Linked DNA regions of Homo sapiens: regions 1, 2, 3 and 5 are each linked to region 4. The links are contacts of gene promoters, found by promoter capture Hi-C in blood cells and fetal thymus (Javierre and others, 2016). All regions are on one chromosome and are shown on one strand. The core of a region is centred on a gene start or on the middle of the fragment in contact, and the rest is flanking DNA. Distances in the headings are between cores, read along the strand shown.

Region 1 (2,899 bases), core at 142-2,641, 400 kb before region 4:
TTTAACTTACAAGTTTGGGTTGACTCTGTGATTGAAACTTAATTGCATGAAACTTTTCAGACAGATTTTTTATATTTCAGTAGAATTCCTCACAGCTAGTTCTATTATTTTTCCCTTTGTGTTCTTGCATTTTATAAACATTGTTTCTAACTGTTGATTTCATCTCCTTTTCTAGGGAATTTTTGCCTCCTAAGTTTTCAATATTCCTTGTTCTAGGCCCACCTTGTTACCTTTTGGAGTTGTGTCAACTATACTTGCTGTACTTAGAATTTTAGCAACAGGAATTATTTCTTTATGACTTTTAATTTTTAGGCATCAAATTTCTAAATTTATTGGGTTTATTTTAGCTTTAAGAAAAGAAAAATACTTAAATTTGTATGTTGTAGTAGCCAACACATTCAGATAATAATTAACAGATGATAATGGATTCACAATAGAAAAGGAAAACTACCTAGCAAATTATTTATTGGAGTATTCGTACATAAATATATACAGTTTCAATTCTCCTGAAAGTACACTTTTAATTCTAGTGACATTTAATAAGCCCTAGGCAAAGCTCCATGCAGGCTACTTTGTATGTAGTGGGGAGAAGTGATGACACTATCATTAATAATCTCAATCCCCATCCTGTTTAAAAAAAAAAAAGAAAGATTGGATTCTTGTTTTCAAGTCCATTTTGTGGGAGATTTCTCTAATCTTCCTACCTTCTCACCCTTTCTCAAAGTACCTACAGTAATGTCTATGGTGACGTGAACTTTTTACTCAAAGAAAGCAACAAGTGTTTTTGCTTGAAATGCATCAAAAATTGCAGTGTTTTTACTTCACCATCGATTGCCTCCAAAAAAAAGTTATAGGCAAAATGAATCAGTGCCCACACAGGATTGTCCTTCAGTATTTTCTGTCTTTATTTGTCACCCAAACTGTTTGTTGTGTTTATAGTCTTTAAAAATGTGTGTCTGTGTGTCGACACACACACACACACACACACATAAAATTCATTTTCTTTTAGTGTGTGTTCTACTCTCCTTGGCTCCTGTGAACAAGCATTGCTTCCGCCCAGTTTGGTATGTGGGTCAGAAGGCACTGTTTCTCACCAGGGTGCTGCTGTTTCCTTTTCCGACTTGAGTAGATTGCAGATTATACTGGAACATGCCTGAGAAAAGGTCATAAAGGAGGGTGAAAGTCCTGGAACTGCAGCTGGGAAGCTTGACATTCTCATCTAGGAAAGGGGAGAAGAGAGAGATGGAGAGAGAGACACACACTCCCATCCCAACCAAAAATAACCCACCTGCAGGAAATTCCCTTCTACACAGGGTATTTTTTGTTAAATAACTATTGAGAGTTTGGTTGAAAAAACTTTAATGTTAAATTGGATGGCAAGCAAGAACTAAGCAGTGTTTTTAACTTTTCAGAGCCCACATTTCCAGTGACTATTTCAAAACAAGCTACCATTGTATTCTTTGACAGAGTCAAGAAGTCAGAGCTTTTCAACTACAGAATTAACTTAGTTAAACTCCTTGGTATATTTTAGATTTTTATCCCTGTCAATTCCACAGCAAGATATTAAAAACAGTCCAAAAGCTTTGCTCTTCTGTAGAAGACAAAAGTTTACCAAAAAATAAAAAATAAAAAAATAAAAAAAAAGGCCCCGTAGAACTCATCATCTAGTTTTTATTTTTGAAAGATATGATATAGGGAATAGAACATCTACATGATGTCTTAGAATAGGTAAAGTGTTGCAAAGAGGGCAAAAATAAAGGAGATATTTGGGACTGGGGCTGTTTCCGTAGAATTGTCTTCTGAGGAGTGCCAGAGAGTCACATTGACCTCGGGCTTCAGTGTGGCTCAGTAATCCGATTTCAAAATGCAAGAGTTCCAAATAGGAGACCAAAGACACTAGGTGAGGAGCTTATATCCTAGAACAATAGTGGGTGTTGTAGATAAGTGTATGGAGAGGTGATGAGAACAGAATTTAATACAGTCGTAGGAGTCTAGAGTACTGAGTTATAGGAAGGTGTCTATTGTAAACCTTCAGAAAAGTGGAGTGCCTAAAGTGGATAAGGTCTGTGTCTGTGGTAAGAATAAGTGGGATGATATGTGGACCTCCTAATAACACTGCTCTTTCACAGGGCACCATTGCTTAGTGTCCTTTAGCTCTTTTTGCAAATGAAGCTTTGCCGTTTCTATACTTATCTCTAATACTCTAATACTATACTTACCTCATATGTCTAATGACAACAGAAGGACAGTGCTCTTTTTATCCTCCAAATGTTTCACTTGACCCACTTTATTCCATTGTAGGTCTTAGTTTCTCATACCTTCTGTTCCTAAAGAATCTTTCTTTGTCCTCCATTAACAATAACTTTTAGAAACCTGTAACAAAAATTTCTCTCTCTCTCTGGTATGACACTCCTTTAAGGTACTTTCTGATCTACAACTATTGTCATTTGATTCCTTAATGTTATTTTAACTGATTTTATGTCCTTTGGTTCACAATATGGTAAGATATGGAAATTTTTTAAAGGTAGAAAGGATGCAAATACATTCATTTTTTATTTTCCCTCTTCTTGTTTGTATCTCGGAAGAAAGACAACTATACATATGTACACACAGATACACTGATAGTAACTTTAATATTTAACATAATCTGAAATGTTCAACAATTTCAGTTTTGCTAGCTTCAGAGAGTTCTTGCAGTTGGCAGTTTGCCACATTCACATGTTCTCACATCACTGCATTCAGAAGCTAAGAATACCAACCTGGCAGCTTCTGCACAGAGGGTAAAGATAAAACAGAAGGGAGTCTAACTTTGCAGCCACATTACCTGGGAGTTGCTGCTGATGTCTTTTCCACAAATGTCCAAGTTTGTCAAAGCCCAGTAAATCTTAGAAAGTTTATT
Region 2 (3,026 bases), core at 527-3,026, 400 kb after region 4:
GACCAGTTCTCCTAAAGCTTTGTATTCAGCCATGTTAAAGGATGATACCTGTTAGTCCTCCAAAGTATTAAAAATAAAAATTAGGAGGAAAGGACTCATCTAACTATATTTATTTAGGCCATTTTCTACATTATTTTCACTCACTTTCTCTAACCTCTACTGTTCTTATTCTTCATACTGTGTCAACTTCTCCCTACCTCAATGCCATCTTTGGATTTTGTTTCTAGTGTAACCAAAATAGCAATGGATGAGGAATCAGAAAATTTGGGTTCTGGTCCCTCCTTGCTAATTACTTGTCTGACTGAGAAAACTCCAGGGCCCATTTTTCTCATGTGACTAAGCATCAAAAGAATATTTGAACCAGAAGGCTTGTAAGATTCCTTCTGACTCACTGACTATATCATCTCTAAAATTCCTTCCAGCTCTAAAATTCTGTGATTCAGGTAAAAACGTGTCAATCATCTTTCATACTCTCAGTTTGATACAGACTGAGTTTAATAATAGGACATTCACCATTTCTTCATTCCAAGCTTCTTCCATACAATTCTGAAAGCTTACCTTTATACAAAATGATCACTAAAGTGCCTTTAGAATCTATGACTATGAGCTATTAAGTCTCATTTTAACCAAAAAAAGATATATATCTAAAATAATATTTCAGAATTGTCATTCCTGACTCTAGTTAAAATTATTTTTTCTTAACTGAAACAAAAATTAACTTTTAACAGATAAGTGCATACTTTTCCAGTATAAGGGCACTTTAGTAAAAGAAACAATGAACAAAAACACATGTGCCTTGGATCAAGCCAAAAAATCAGAAAGTTTACACTTTAAGGGCAGTTAGAATGACACCCCTCTGCAGGCTGACAGCAAAACCAGAAAAGCTCATCCATTTTAGCAGTGTAACACAACCCTGAGGAAGTCTGTCAATTGAAGTGTTATCACACTTTAAACACTTCCATTCAAACTGTCAGTTATCTATTTATCATTTCGCTTTGGTAATTCAGTCAAAGTAAACACAGACACCTATGGTGACTTTGTAATTGCCCTTCATTACAATACCAAATTACTAACAGGGCTTGAGAACAAGAAAGAGGATGTTCATGTATGCCCGTGAGGTAAGCATTCTGAGGCAGAATTAGGTCAAGACAAACCACAAGCAGATATCTTCAATTATTCATATTACTAATATTAAAAAATAAAATACCTGTTCACTTTAAGACAAACTAAAGGCCAATGAAAAATTCGGAACATTGAAGTCTACTGAATTCCTTTTTATTTTTACATGATTCAAACTTATGAGTAAAGATCAATAAAAACGTAACCAGCACTGTAGGATTCTAGGTTACACAAAATGAAACTGTCTGCCTTCAATACACAATCTTACACTTTATCATTGCTTTTACCAATGTATTTTACCAATGTATGTTTTTGGTTGGTTGGTTGTTTTTGAGACAAGAGCCTTGCTCTGTTGCCCAGGCTGCAGTGCAGTGGCGCGATCTTGGCTCACTGCAACCTCTGCCTCCTGGGTTCAAGCGATTCTCATGCCTCAGCCTCCCAAGTAGCTGGGATTACAAGCATGCGCCACCACGCCCAGCTAATTTTTTGTATTTTTAGTAGAGATGTGTTTTGCCATGTTGGCCAGGCCAGTCTCGAACTCCTGACCTCAAGTGCCCGCCTCTGCCTCCCAAAGTGCTGGGATTACAGGCATGAACCATCAGGCCCAGCCAATGTATTTTTTACAAATACATAATTAATTTCCCCAATAACAAGTAAAACAAAAAAAGATAAAAATATGGTGACAATGCCAGCAAGTCTTCTTGCATAGGCTATATAGCCAAAAAATAAATTTCAAGCATTTGAGGAATTCAGCAGATCACTTAGTCACTATGGAAAGCAGTCTACTTATGCATGAAATTCATGGAGTTTTACCATAAAGAGCTTTATTTTATTATTTTTGAACACCTGACACTTAATACTTTCATCTCTCCTTGAAGAGAAGTTTTTTAATATACAGAGTAAAGGAATTTCACAATTCCTCAGTTAGTTAGAAATAACTCTTTGGAAATAAATATGACTGTAGGATTTCAACAATGACTTTGATTCAGTAATTCTGTATTCTCTCCTGGCTCGGAACAAGTCACTCAAGTTTTGCCATTGGAACACCTTACTACTTATACTTTATAATCTCGTTTGAATATCTGTTAAAGTATCTTTTGACCATCCCTAAATAAAGTTTAAATAAATTTTCATCTATAAAAGAGAGTATTAAGGAAGAAAAGCATAAAACAAAATAATTCACATTATATGGTAGGGGGTGATATATCAATGAAATGAAACTCTGGGGGCTATAGCTCACAGTTTTTTGTGTAGAACCAACTCTAATAAGATACTAGTGAAAAACAAAACAACTCTAAAAATATATTAAAATATCATTGGTCACTTCATAGTAATCAATTTATGGTTCACTGATTTGGGGGTATAATTTCATACTTGCAACTTCAATTTTAGAGTAAACTAATTATCACACCAGAACATAGGCTCCCAAACTAATACTGCCAAAAGAAATTATTTGAAAGTCATATAAGTCTTTAGTAAGAAAGAATTCTCTATTTCCACCAAGCCCAAATTCATATTATTCTAATTTCCCTGGAAAATTTCAAAACCACCAATGACATCTTTTGAAAGTTAATAATTTAGTATAACTTTTAAAAGAGGGGTTTGTATTTATCAGAATTATGAGGTGGGATAATCATTATATTTCTCATTCAATTAAGAAAATTCAAACTTTGCCCAGACAGCCTAAATAAACTATCTGCTTTTGAAGTTTTTAAGTATATAAAGTATATTAATTAGATCTAATTAGACTAAACCATTTAAACACTTCTATCTCCTCATATGATATCATCCAAGTTTGACTATTTTTGGTAGCAGGATTTAAAAGAAGAAACTAAGATGTCTGACTACAACAGAAATTAATTTCAAGGAATTAAATATCCCAAGCTTTAAGACCAAATCCCATACTT
Region 3 (3,179 bases), core at 530-3,029, 380 kb before region 4:
GACCACTATTAAGAGATATCCTAATTTCCTGGATTATGGCCAAAAATAGAGAAAAATTATACTAGTTGTACTTAGTGTTTTTTCCTTTGACCAACAATATACAATTCAACTTACGACAAATAAGCAGCTTGAAAAATATGTGCCTCTTTCTGTGGTTCTGAGACTGGAACCAGTGAAAAGCAGACAATTCATATCAAATTTTTTATCCAGTCATCGTTAGCTAATTTTAACCATTTTGTGTCACATAGCTACACATTTGTTGCTATTGATCTCACTCTTCTCCATCTGGTTATTCCATTTAACTTATACCTTGTTTTAAAGGGCTTCAGCAGTGAATTTTATTTTATTTTAACTTAGAAATACTACAGGGGTGCTCCAGAAAAGGGGGAGAAATAGAAAATTTTGAATCTCTAACTCTGAAAATTAAGGGCCTTGTTACTACACATCATTCTGTTTATTGGTTATATCAGACAGTATGTACAGCAGAATTGTAAATGATTACTAATTTTTTAGTTATTTTTATCCATACTCTATAACAGTATGATATACTTGTATTTGCTAATGTTAAATGAGTTTTTCTCTAATTTTTTGTGCATTTTTCCCCCTTTTCCATGAAGGCCTTATCTCTTTGGAGCGGGGTGTTTTTCCATAAAAGCCCCATGGTGAGTTCCAGTTCAGTCCCGCATGCCTCATTCATTTGCTGTACTCTCAAAAAGTAATTTGTTTTGTAGTTTTGTTTCCAGTTGCATGGCCTGATCACAGATAGATGCACCAAGTTACTGAATAATTTGTAGATGGAACATGAATGTTGATATTTAAGCTTTAGAAAAGTGGTTTTCTTGGTTTCACTTCATTCTTTAAAAAGTAAAAAACAAAAAAAAAAAAACCACAGATGAATTTTTTTTAAATAGAAGAATTCTCTCATAATGCTCGTAAATATTACAAGACAAGGCTAACACCCAAGTTTAAAGCTTTGAGTATTATGGCATTAGAAGTTACCTACATATCATGCATAGCATTTGAGGACATGATTTATTTTGAAATATAAATATATTTAAGGTATACCAAAAGCACCTTATAAAGTTTTTGTTGCATTTTATTTGGTCCTAAAGAGACAAAAGTTCTGTTTTTGAATAGTTTAGGTATTTAAGGAGCTACATAATGACAAAATATATATTTTACATAAAACCTCCTAAATAATTTATTATTTTGAATTATTAGCACATACTCATCATAGCTTAATTATTTGGTAAATTCTTTCATGTCAGTGCACAGAATACAGCTTTGTCAGTCTTAGACAGGAAGGTCATAGAAAAGAATTCGAATATATTTAATACTTTCATGTAAAGATAGGAAGTAGAATGTGTTAAGAATGGTATAAAATGTTTAATGGTTAAGAGTCAGACTGCCTGGGTCTTAGATCCCAATTGACACACTTACTAGCTATATGATTTGGGGGGAGTTTTCTAAAACCTTTCTATTTCTTATTTCCTTATGTATTAAATGTACCTATGTAATGGACTCACTATGAGTATTAAATAAGCTGATACATATCTCAGTATGTGTTAGTATATAACAGTGCCTGGCACATAGTAAATGTGCAGTAAATGTTAGCTGCTACCACTGTTTCTTTTCCTGTTTCAGGGAAAAATACCGTGTTTCAAAAGAAGCTTATTTAAATTAGATTATGTTTTTCACTTTTAAGGATATGTTAACCAGTGCGAAGTTTTGAGAAATGTAAGCTATATTAATTTTATTAATTTAGTCAGAATACTGAAAAGAGTTCTGCACATATGTGTAGTTCTCATAACTGCTAAATGGGGATTGTTCATACTGTTCTATTACACTAGAAAAAAACATTCCAACGTTTTTTCCTCTTGGACAGAAAGAAGCTTAAATAGTTCTTTAAGGTTAATTATTATTTGACACAAACTTATTTCAATGTTTATATGCCATAGGAAGATCTGAAAATTTTGTTATTGCTTAATAATAGGTGACATAAAACAAATCAACATAAAATTTTCCTCCTTGAAAATTATAATTAGACACAGTTTGCAAAACTATTCTAAACAAATTCAGGATATACAAGAATATAAATCTCATGAAAGTTGATCTTTATTCATTTTGTTAACCAGATGTCTTCTAAAAACAAATAAGATACACAGATCTTACTTATGAGCCTTCCAGTGATCAGTGAATTTTAAATGCCACATTCAACATATGACAAAATTTCTTTGTAAACTTAGAATTAAATTCCATTTTAGGATAAATTCTTCTTCTAAGTACAAAGCAAAGAGTTGTAGTATGTTAATAAAGATTGAAGTTTTGCATAGAAGTAAAAGATGGAATAACAACTGTTGTATGTTAAGTAAGTAAAGTTCATTCCTTCAACAGCTTACGTGCTCCTCACATTTAAGCAAAAGCACTTGTCAACCAGAAATGATTTGAGGTTGAAACAAGATTAAAAGAGCCAGATTAAAGAAAGGGATATATTAAATATAGTAGACTTTTAAATCATTGCCTGTCTTTTAGAAGACTGCTTTGTGGTTTGTTTGATGCCATCGTTAGCTCACAAGAAACTCGTTTTTAGTCACTTATACTAGACTAAAAGGTTCTCCTTTAAAATGTTACTTTCCCAGTGGTGCATGTTTTTTCCATTAAGATCTTAATGAAACCTCAAATTAAGGCAGCAAATGAATATAAATTTGACAACTTCTTCCATTTTGTTTATAAGAGCTCCTTTGTTTTAATAGTTTTTGCTATTTTTCCATGTTATTTAGCATTCAACCTGAGAATGTTTTTATGTACTGTTCTGAAATAAAACATTATATGCTAAATAAATATGTTTTTAGTATATCCAGTTATAGGGTAATATATGTATTTTGGATGAAAAATGAAATTTTTAAATGAAATGTAAATTTTCTACAAACTTTTTATTAGTTTCGAGTTGCAACGTTAACACTTAGCTAAGAATTTGCTTTTGGTATATCACAATTTCTGCTAGTTCTTTATTCTCCATTAAACAGGTTTAGTCCTTTACATTCATATACTTTCAGATGAGTCGTTATAAAATACAGTCGTTCCCTTTGGTAACAAAATAAGCTTGTTGGAAAGTAAACTATGCATCTTCAACATTTTAGTCACTTTGGACTTCCCTGGTATTATGTGTCATCTAGGTT
Region 4 (3,118 bases), core at 193-2,692:
TGGGAGCTGGGCGGGCACTCCTTTAGCCCTGGGTCTGGTCGGTCACCGAGCACGCCACCTCCTTCCCAGTTCTCTCCTCTTTAAGCCTTGGGGACCCTGAACGCCCTGCCCCAACAGGCTGCCCACCTTGGGCACTGCACAGGGTGGGGCTTGGGGAGGGTGCTGGCTTCCAAAACACCAGGGACGTTGAGATGGAGGAACGGTGATGGTGAAGGTGGAATGGACAGTTGGGCCCCCAGACTCCCAGGACGCCTTTGTGGGCCGATACATTTGCAAGGAGCGAGAGAGAGAGAACCAGGCCCGCCTCTTCAGGATGGTGCTGCCCCCAGGCCACGCCGAATGCGGCTGGAGCAGGGAGGGGACTCAGCCAGTGCACGAGTGGGAGGTTGCAGTAGAACGTATCCCAACCCCAGAGGGTGGGTTCTGGCTTCCCTGCCTCAGACCTGCGGGCAGGTCCGGGAACCCGACAGGGACAGAGAAGCCCGTTTTCCAGCCTAAATAGAAGCTCGTGGGCAGCGCGTTTGCTGGAGGTCGCTTTGGGCTGAAACGCCTCTCATACTCCTAGAGGAGCGGCGCGTTTGCGTCCCGCGGCTTCTCACTTTCAGCAGGACATTAGGAGGGAGACGAGAGTCGGCTGCGCGCCCGCGGCGGCCTACGTACAGGGCTGCGGACACCAGGGGGCAGCACCGACTTAGGGTCGCGGGAGGGGTGCGGGTGCGGGCATGGGCGCGGGGGAGGCGGGTGCCTGCGAAGGCCGGGCGGGGCGGCCTAGTCGCGGCCGTTTTTAGGCCGCGTCGTTGCTGCAGCAACCCGGGTGGGGTGGGGTGGGACTCCAGGGCCTCGAGATCCCCCACACCACTTTCGCCGCCACCTCCCGCCGCACATGTCCCCTCCGAGTCGCCCACCCGGCGCTCCGCGGGGCCCCAGCTGGTAGCCTGAGTGCGACTGCGGGAACCCGCGGCCGGCGGCTGGGCCTTGTCCCAGACAAAGGCTAGGCCACTCCCATGTCCAATTAAGCCACCCTCCTCCCCGGCCTCCCAGCCCTCATTGTCCCCGGGGTCGCCAATTAGCCTAGGCGCCCGGCGTACCCGCCGCTCCGGTGCCGCAAGGCCTCCTTAACCCTTCAGGGCCTGGCCCGGGGTCCTTGGACGGCAGAGCCGCCGGCACACGCGTGGCAGGAGGGCCAGTGCTGGGACGATGGCGATACCTGCTGGCGGCCTAGCCTGTCGCCTCGGGCTCTCGCGTGTGGGGCGTGTGAGGTCTAAGAGGGAATTGTGCGTGTCGGTGTGGGGTGGCGCGTGCGATTCCCGGAGGAACTCGGAGATGGAGGGTGTGAGTGCAGGGGCTCCGAGAGACCCCTAGCGGCTAAGCCGCCCGGATCCCAAGGCCCAGGGGACCTCATTTCCTCTCGGGTTAATCGGAATCTTCCGAGCCCTCAAGCCCTTCCTCCTCCACTCCCCCGCCGCTGCTGTGGAGAACCGGAGCCACCGGTATGGCCTGGCCCTGCCCTCCCGAAGGCCGCAGCTCCCGGGCCCGCCTCCCCAGCTGACCGCGAACTCCTGCGTGGGGTGCTCCTGGGGCGGGAGGGGCGCGCTCAGCCTCGCTCTCCCCGGGACTCTCACGCTCAAGCGCCCCGGCTTGAGGCCGGGACCCCCTATTTCCCGGTTATGGGACGGCCCCTTGAGGGACAGCCTCTACGAGCCCTGGATTTATACCCCGAGCCTGCCTTCCTCCGCTCTGGGAAGGACCCAAAATCCAGTCCCGCTTCCTCCCCCTCCTTCGCTGTCCTTGGCCCCGAGGTGCGGAGCACCGGCGGTCAGGCGGGATCCCGCAGGAGGCCGAGCGCTCCCTGCTCGCAGGACAGGGCGGCAGCGGAGGGAGCCCCCGCCCTCTTGGGAGGAAGCCCGAGCTCCGGGTCTCCTGGGCACCCTCCCGGGAGCGCCTTCGGGGTGGAGGCTGGTTGCCGGGCGCTGAACGTGTCCGAGCACGCCCGGGGCGGTTTTGCACTTGGACTTCCTTTTGGGCTCTCCGGAGGCGCATATCTGTTCCTCCTATTGGATGGGGCCGGGGACCCCAAACCCACTCCGGAAGCACCGATTTCCAGCGCTGACGGCCGCGCCTGGTTTCCCAGCGAGTCCTCTTGGCAGCTCCCGCAGCTCCCCGCCGGGAGCACGAGTGGGAGCGAACCCAGAGCCCGCCCAGGCCTCGGGCCTCGGCAACTCCTCACAGGTCCACGAGATGGCGCTGCAGGCCAGGGCCCGGGCCGCGGCCTCACAGCCCGCCTCGGGCGAGAGCGGGAGATAGACTGCGGACCCCGGCAAGCGGGGCACGGAGGCACAGCCACCGACACAGGCAGAGCCGGGTCCGGAGCCCGGCACAGGCCGCCGAGGGACCGAGGGACTCCGGGGCTGCGGACACACTGAGCGGAGGGCTTGAGGCTCGGGGTGGGGCCTTCTCCCCTGCTGCCAGAACCGCCCGGCAGCGCCAGCTCGGCGACCTTCCAGGCTGCTGCAGACCCCAGCTTGTCCTCTTCTGCGCGCCCGCGGGGCTGGGCCCTCGCGTTCTCTCTGCGGGAAGTGAGCCGCCGGCCTCCGGCCTCCTGGGCCCCTCCGAAGGGGGCTGTGGCTGGCATCCGCAGCGCGCGGGGCGCACGGCCCTAGGAGCGCGGGGCCCACTCGACGGTGAGGACTTACGGGCGGGATAGGGGAAGGATCGGCGGGGATCCAGCGCTCCTCCAGCGGAGAGGGCCCCCTCGGCTCCGACCCGCCCTCCTCACCACCCTCATCCGGCTCTTCAGGGCGGGGTCTTCAGGGTCGAGGGCAGGATGTGCCCTGTGGAGCTGCTCACCTAAGTTCCTGCCTCCATAGGGGAGGCTTTGGGCTGCGTTATTCCAGCGGGAGGTGGTGGGGACTGGGGAGGGCCCAGGGGTCAGCCTGAGAATCTCGCCCTTGGATTAAAAGCCACCAATGCTCTGGGTCAAGTCTCAATGGGAGGCTGGGGATGTAAGACCCGTTGGCTGGGGAATGCCAGAGTTGGAGGGGGTGGGGCTTAGAAGCCTGTTTCCAGCTGACCTTTTATGTCCCCAGATGAGCTCTGGCACCCTCAGAGATTAACCCTA
Region 5 (2,923 bases), core at 70-2,569, 450 kb before region 4:
CAGCTCACTGCAAGCTCCGCCTCCCAGGTTCATGCCATTCTCCTGCCTCAGCCTCCCGAGTAGCTGGGACCACAGGCGCCTGCCACCATGCCCAGCTAATTTTTTGTATTTTTAGTAGAGACAGGCTTTCACTGTGTTAGCCAGGATGGTCTCGATCTCCTGACCTCATGATCCACCCGCCTCGGCCTCCCAAAGTGCTGGGATTACAGGCGTGAGCCACCACACCCGGCCAAATGCTACTGGTTTTTGTATGTTCATTTTATAACTTGCAACTTTACTGAATTTGCTGATCAGCTGTAACAATTTTTTGGTGAGTTCTGTAGCCTTTTCTGGATATAAGATCATGTTGTCTGCAAACAAGGCTGATTTGAATTCTTCCTTTCCAATTTGGTTGCTCTTTATTTCTTTCTCTTGCCTAATTGCTCTGGCCAGGACTGGCAGTATTATGTTGAGTAACCGTAGTGAGAGTGGACATACTCGTCTTGTTCCAGTCTTTAGAGGAAAGGCCTTCATTTTTTCCCTGTTCCGTATGATGGTAGCTGTGGATTTGTCATATATGGTCTTTATTATTTTGAAGTATGTTGTTTCTATACCCATTTTGATTAGGGGTTTTTTTATATCATAAAGGATGTTGAATTTTATAAAATACTTTTTCAGTATCTATTGAAATATGTGGTTTTTGTTTTTGATTCTGTTAATATGATATATCATGTTTATTGAGTTGCTTATGTTGAACCATCCTTGCATCCCTGGAATGAATCCCATTTGATATTATAAATGATCTTTTTAGTGTGTTGTTGAATTCTGTTTGCTAGTATTTTGTTGAGGATTTTCACATATATGTTCATCACGGATATTGGCCTGTAGTTTTCTTTTCTTGTTGTCGTGTCCTTATCTGATTTTACTGTCAAGGTAATGCTGGCCTTATAGAATGAGTTTGGAAGTATGTCCTCCTCTTCAATTTTTTTGAAGAGTTTGAGTACAATTGGTATTAATTCTTCTTTAAATGTTTGGTAGAATTCAGCAGTGAAGTTGTGAAGTCCTGGGATTTTCTTGCTTTTTATGGAGGCTTTTTATTACAGCTTCAGTTTTGTTACTTGTTATTGGTTTGTTGAGGTTTTCTGTTTCTTCATGATTCAATCTTGGAGGTTGTATGTTTCCAGAAATTTATCCATTTCTTCTAGGTTTTCCAGTTTGTTGGTATATAATTGTTCATAGTAGTCTCTAATGATTTTTTGTGTTTCTGAGGTCTCAGTTGTTATGTGTCCTTTCTTTGTTTCTGATTTTATTTATTTAGGTCTTCTCTCTTTTTTCTTAGTCTAGCTCAAGACTTGTTGATTTTGTTTACATTTTTGAAAACCAATGTTTTGTTCTATTGATCTGTATTTCTTTTTAGCTTCGATTTCATTAGTTCCTGCTCTGATCTTTATTATTTCTGTCTTTACTATTTTTGACTTTGGTTTGTTCTTGCTTCTAGTTCCTTGAGGTATATCATTAGGTTGTTCATTTGAAGCCTTTCATTTTTCTGATATAGGCATTTATTGCTACAAACTTGCCTGTTAGTACTGCTTTTGCTATATCCCATAGGTTTTGGTATATTGAATTTTTTTTTTTTTTTTTTTTGAGATGGAGTCTCACTCCAGGCTGGAGTGCAGTGGCGCAATCTTGGCTCACTGCAACCTCTGCCTCCTGAGTTCAAGTGATTCTCCTGCCTCAGCCTCCAGAGTAACTGGGATTATAGGCGCCCGCCACCACACCTGGCTAATTTTTGTATTTTTAGTAGAGATGGAGTTTCACCATGTTGGCCAGGCTGGTCTTGAACTTCTGACCTCAAGTGATCTGCCCCCTCGGCTTACCAAAGTGCTGGGATTACAGGCATGAGCCACCACGCCCGGCCTATATATTGCATTTCCATTTTTCCATTTTCACTTGTTTCAAGACATTTTAAAATTTCTTTCTTAATTAATTTCTTCATTGACCTATTGGTCACTCAGGAGCATGTTTTTTAATTTCTATGTGTTTATATATTTTCCCCAGTTCTTCTTATTAAGTTCTAGTTTTAGTCCATTGTGGCCAGAAAAGATATTTGATATGATTTTTATTTTAAAAGTTTTGTTCAGATTTGTTTTATGACCTAAGATATGGTCTCTTCTGGAGAATGTCCCATGTGCTAGTAAAGAAAATGTATGCTGCAGCAGTTGGATAAAATGTTCTCTAAACGTAGTTAGGCTTGTTGGATCTGGTGTGTAGTTTAACTCTGCTGTTTCATTGTTGATTTTATGTCTGAATGATTTGTCCATTACTGGAGTGGGGTCTCCTTCTTTTATTGTATTGCAGTCTATCTCTGTTTTAGATCTATTAATATTTTCTTTATAGACTTGAGATGTCCAGTGTTGGTTGAATATTTATAATTGTTACATATGTTTACTTAATTGACCCCTTTATCATTGTATAGTGTCCTTCTCTGTCTCTCTTTATAATCTTAGATTGGTTGTCTATTTTTTCATGTAAGTATAGCTATTCCTGCTCTGTTTTGGTTTCCAGATACGTGGAGTATCTTTTCTCACCCCTTCACTTTCAGTCTATGTGTGTCTTTATAGGTGAAGTGGATTTCTTGAAGGCAGCATGTAACTTGGTCTTGTTTCTTTATCCATTCAGCCACTCCGTGCCTTTTAGTTGGATAATCGAGACCATTTACATTCAGCCTTATTATTGATAAGTAAGAAGATACTACTGCCATTCTTTTGCTAGTTTTCTGGTTGTTTCTTTCTTAGTGCCTTCCTTTGTGGGTAAGTTATTTTCTCTGGTATTATGCTGTTAATTTGTTGCATTTCTTTTTAGTGAGTCTGTTACAGGATTTTGTGTTACAAGTTTTTGTGTTGTGGTTACCAGGAGGCTTATAGAGACATCTTATAATAGATAT

Evidence for each region. The method cuts DNA at HindIII sites, captures the fragments that hold promoters and counts their contacts. A CHiCAGO score of 5 or more calls a contact.
Region 1: a contact is called between a fragment that was not itself captured here and the fragment with the promoter of LINC02875 in region 4, in 2 of 17 cell types (naive B cells and naive CD4 T cells). The highest score is 5.5, in naive B cells.
Region 2: a fragment that was not itself captured here is called in contact with the fragment with the promoter of LINC02875 in region 4 in 1 of 17 cell types (monocytes); the score reaches 5.7 in monocytes.
Region 3: a fragment that was not itself captured here is called in contact with the fragment with the promoter of LINC02875 in region 4 in 2 of 17 cell types (naive B cells and naive CD8 T cells); the score reaches 5.5 in naive B cells.
Region 5: a fragment that was not itself captured here is called in contact with the fragment with the promoter of LINC02875 in region 4 in 1 of 17 cell types (erythroblasts); the score reaches 6.3 in erythroblasts.

The regions. Positions count from the first base shown.
Region 1 is chr17:61,007,076-61,009,974 of GRCh38, forward strand. The region is part of intron 15 of BCAS3 (BCAS3 microtubule associated cell migration factor); the gene reads left to right. Among named protein-coding and RNA genes, the nearest start is that of BCAS3-AS1, 130 kb to the right of the region's middle. The HindIII fragment of the contact is 376 bases long and covers 1,204-1,579 here.
Region 2 is chr17:61,805,264-61,808,289 of GRCh38, forward strand. The region is part of intron 7 of BRIP1 (BRCA1 interacting DNA helicase 1); the gene reads right to left. Among named protein-coding and RNA genes, the nearest start is that of BRIP1, 57 kb to the right of the region's middle. The HindIII fragment of the contact is 2,450 bases long and covers 552-3,001 here.
Region 3 is chr17:61,026,249-61,029,427 of GRCh38, forward strand. All of the region lies in intron 16 of BCAS3 (BCAS3 microtubule associated cell migration factor), which reads left to right. Among named protein-coding and RNA genes, the nearest start is that of BCAS3-AS1, 110 kb to the right of the region's middle. The HindIII fragment of the contact is 222 bases long and covers 1,669-1,890 here.
Region 4 is chr17:61,410,309-61,413,426 of GRCh38, forward strand. LINC02875 (long intergenic non-protein coding RNA 2875) reads left to right here and starts at 1,443. Exons shown (of 1, transcript NR_160788.1): 1 at 1,443-2,972. RefSeq lists an enhancer at 158-740 and silencers at 620-789, 2,310-2,369, 2,390-2,449. The HindIII fragment of the contact is 15,544 bases long and covers 1-3,118 here.
Region 5 is chr17:60,963,624-60,966,546 of GRCh38, forward strand. The region is part of intron 14 of BCAS3 (BCAS3 microtubule associated cell migration factor); the gene reads left to right. Among named protein-coding and RNA genes, the nearest start is that of BCAS3-AS1, 170 kb to the right of the region's middle. The HindIII fragment of the contact is 4,425 bases long and covers 1-2,923 here.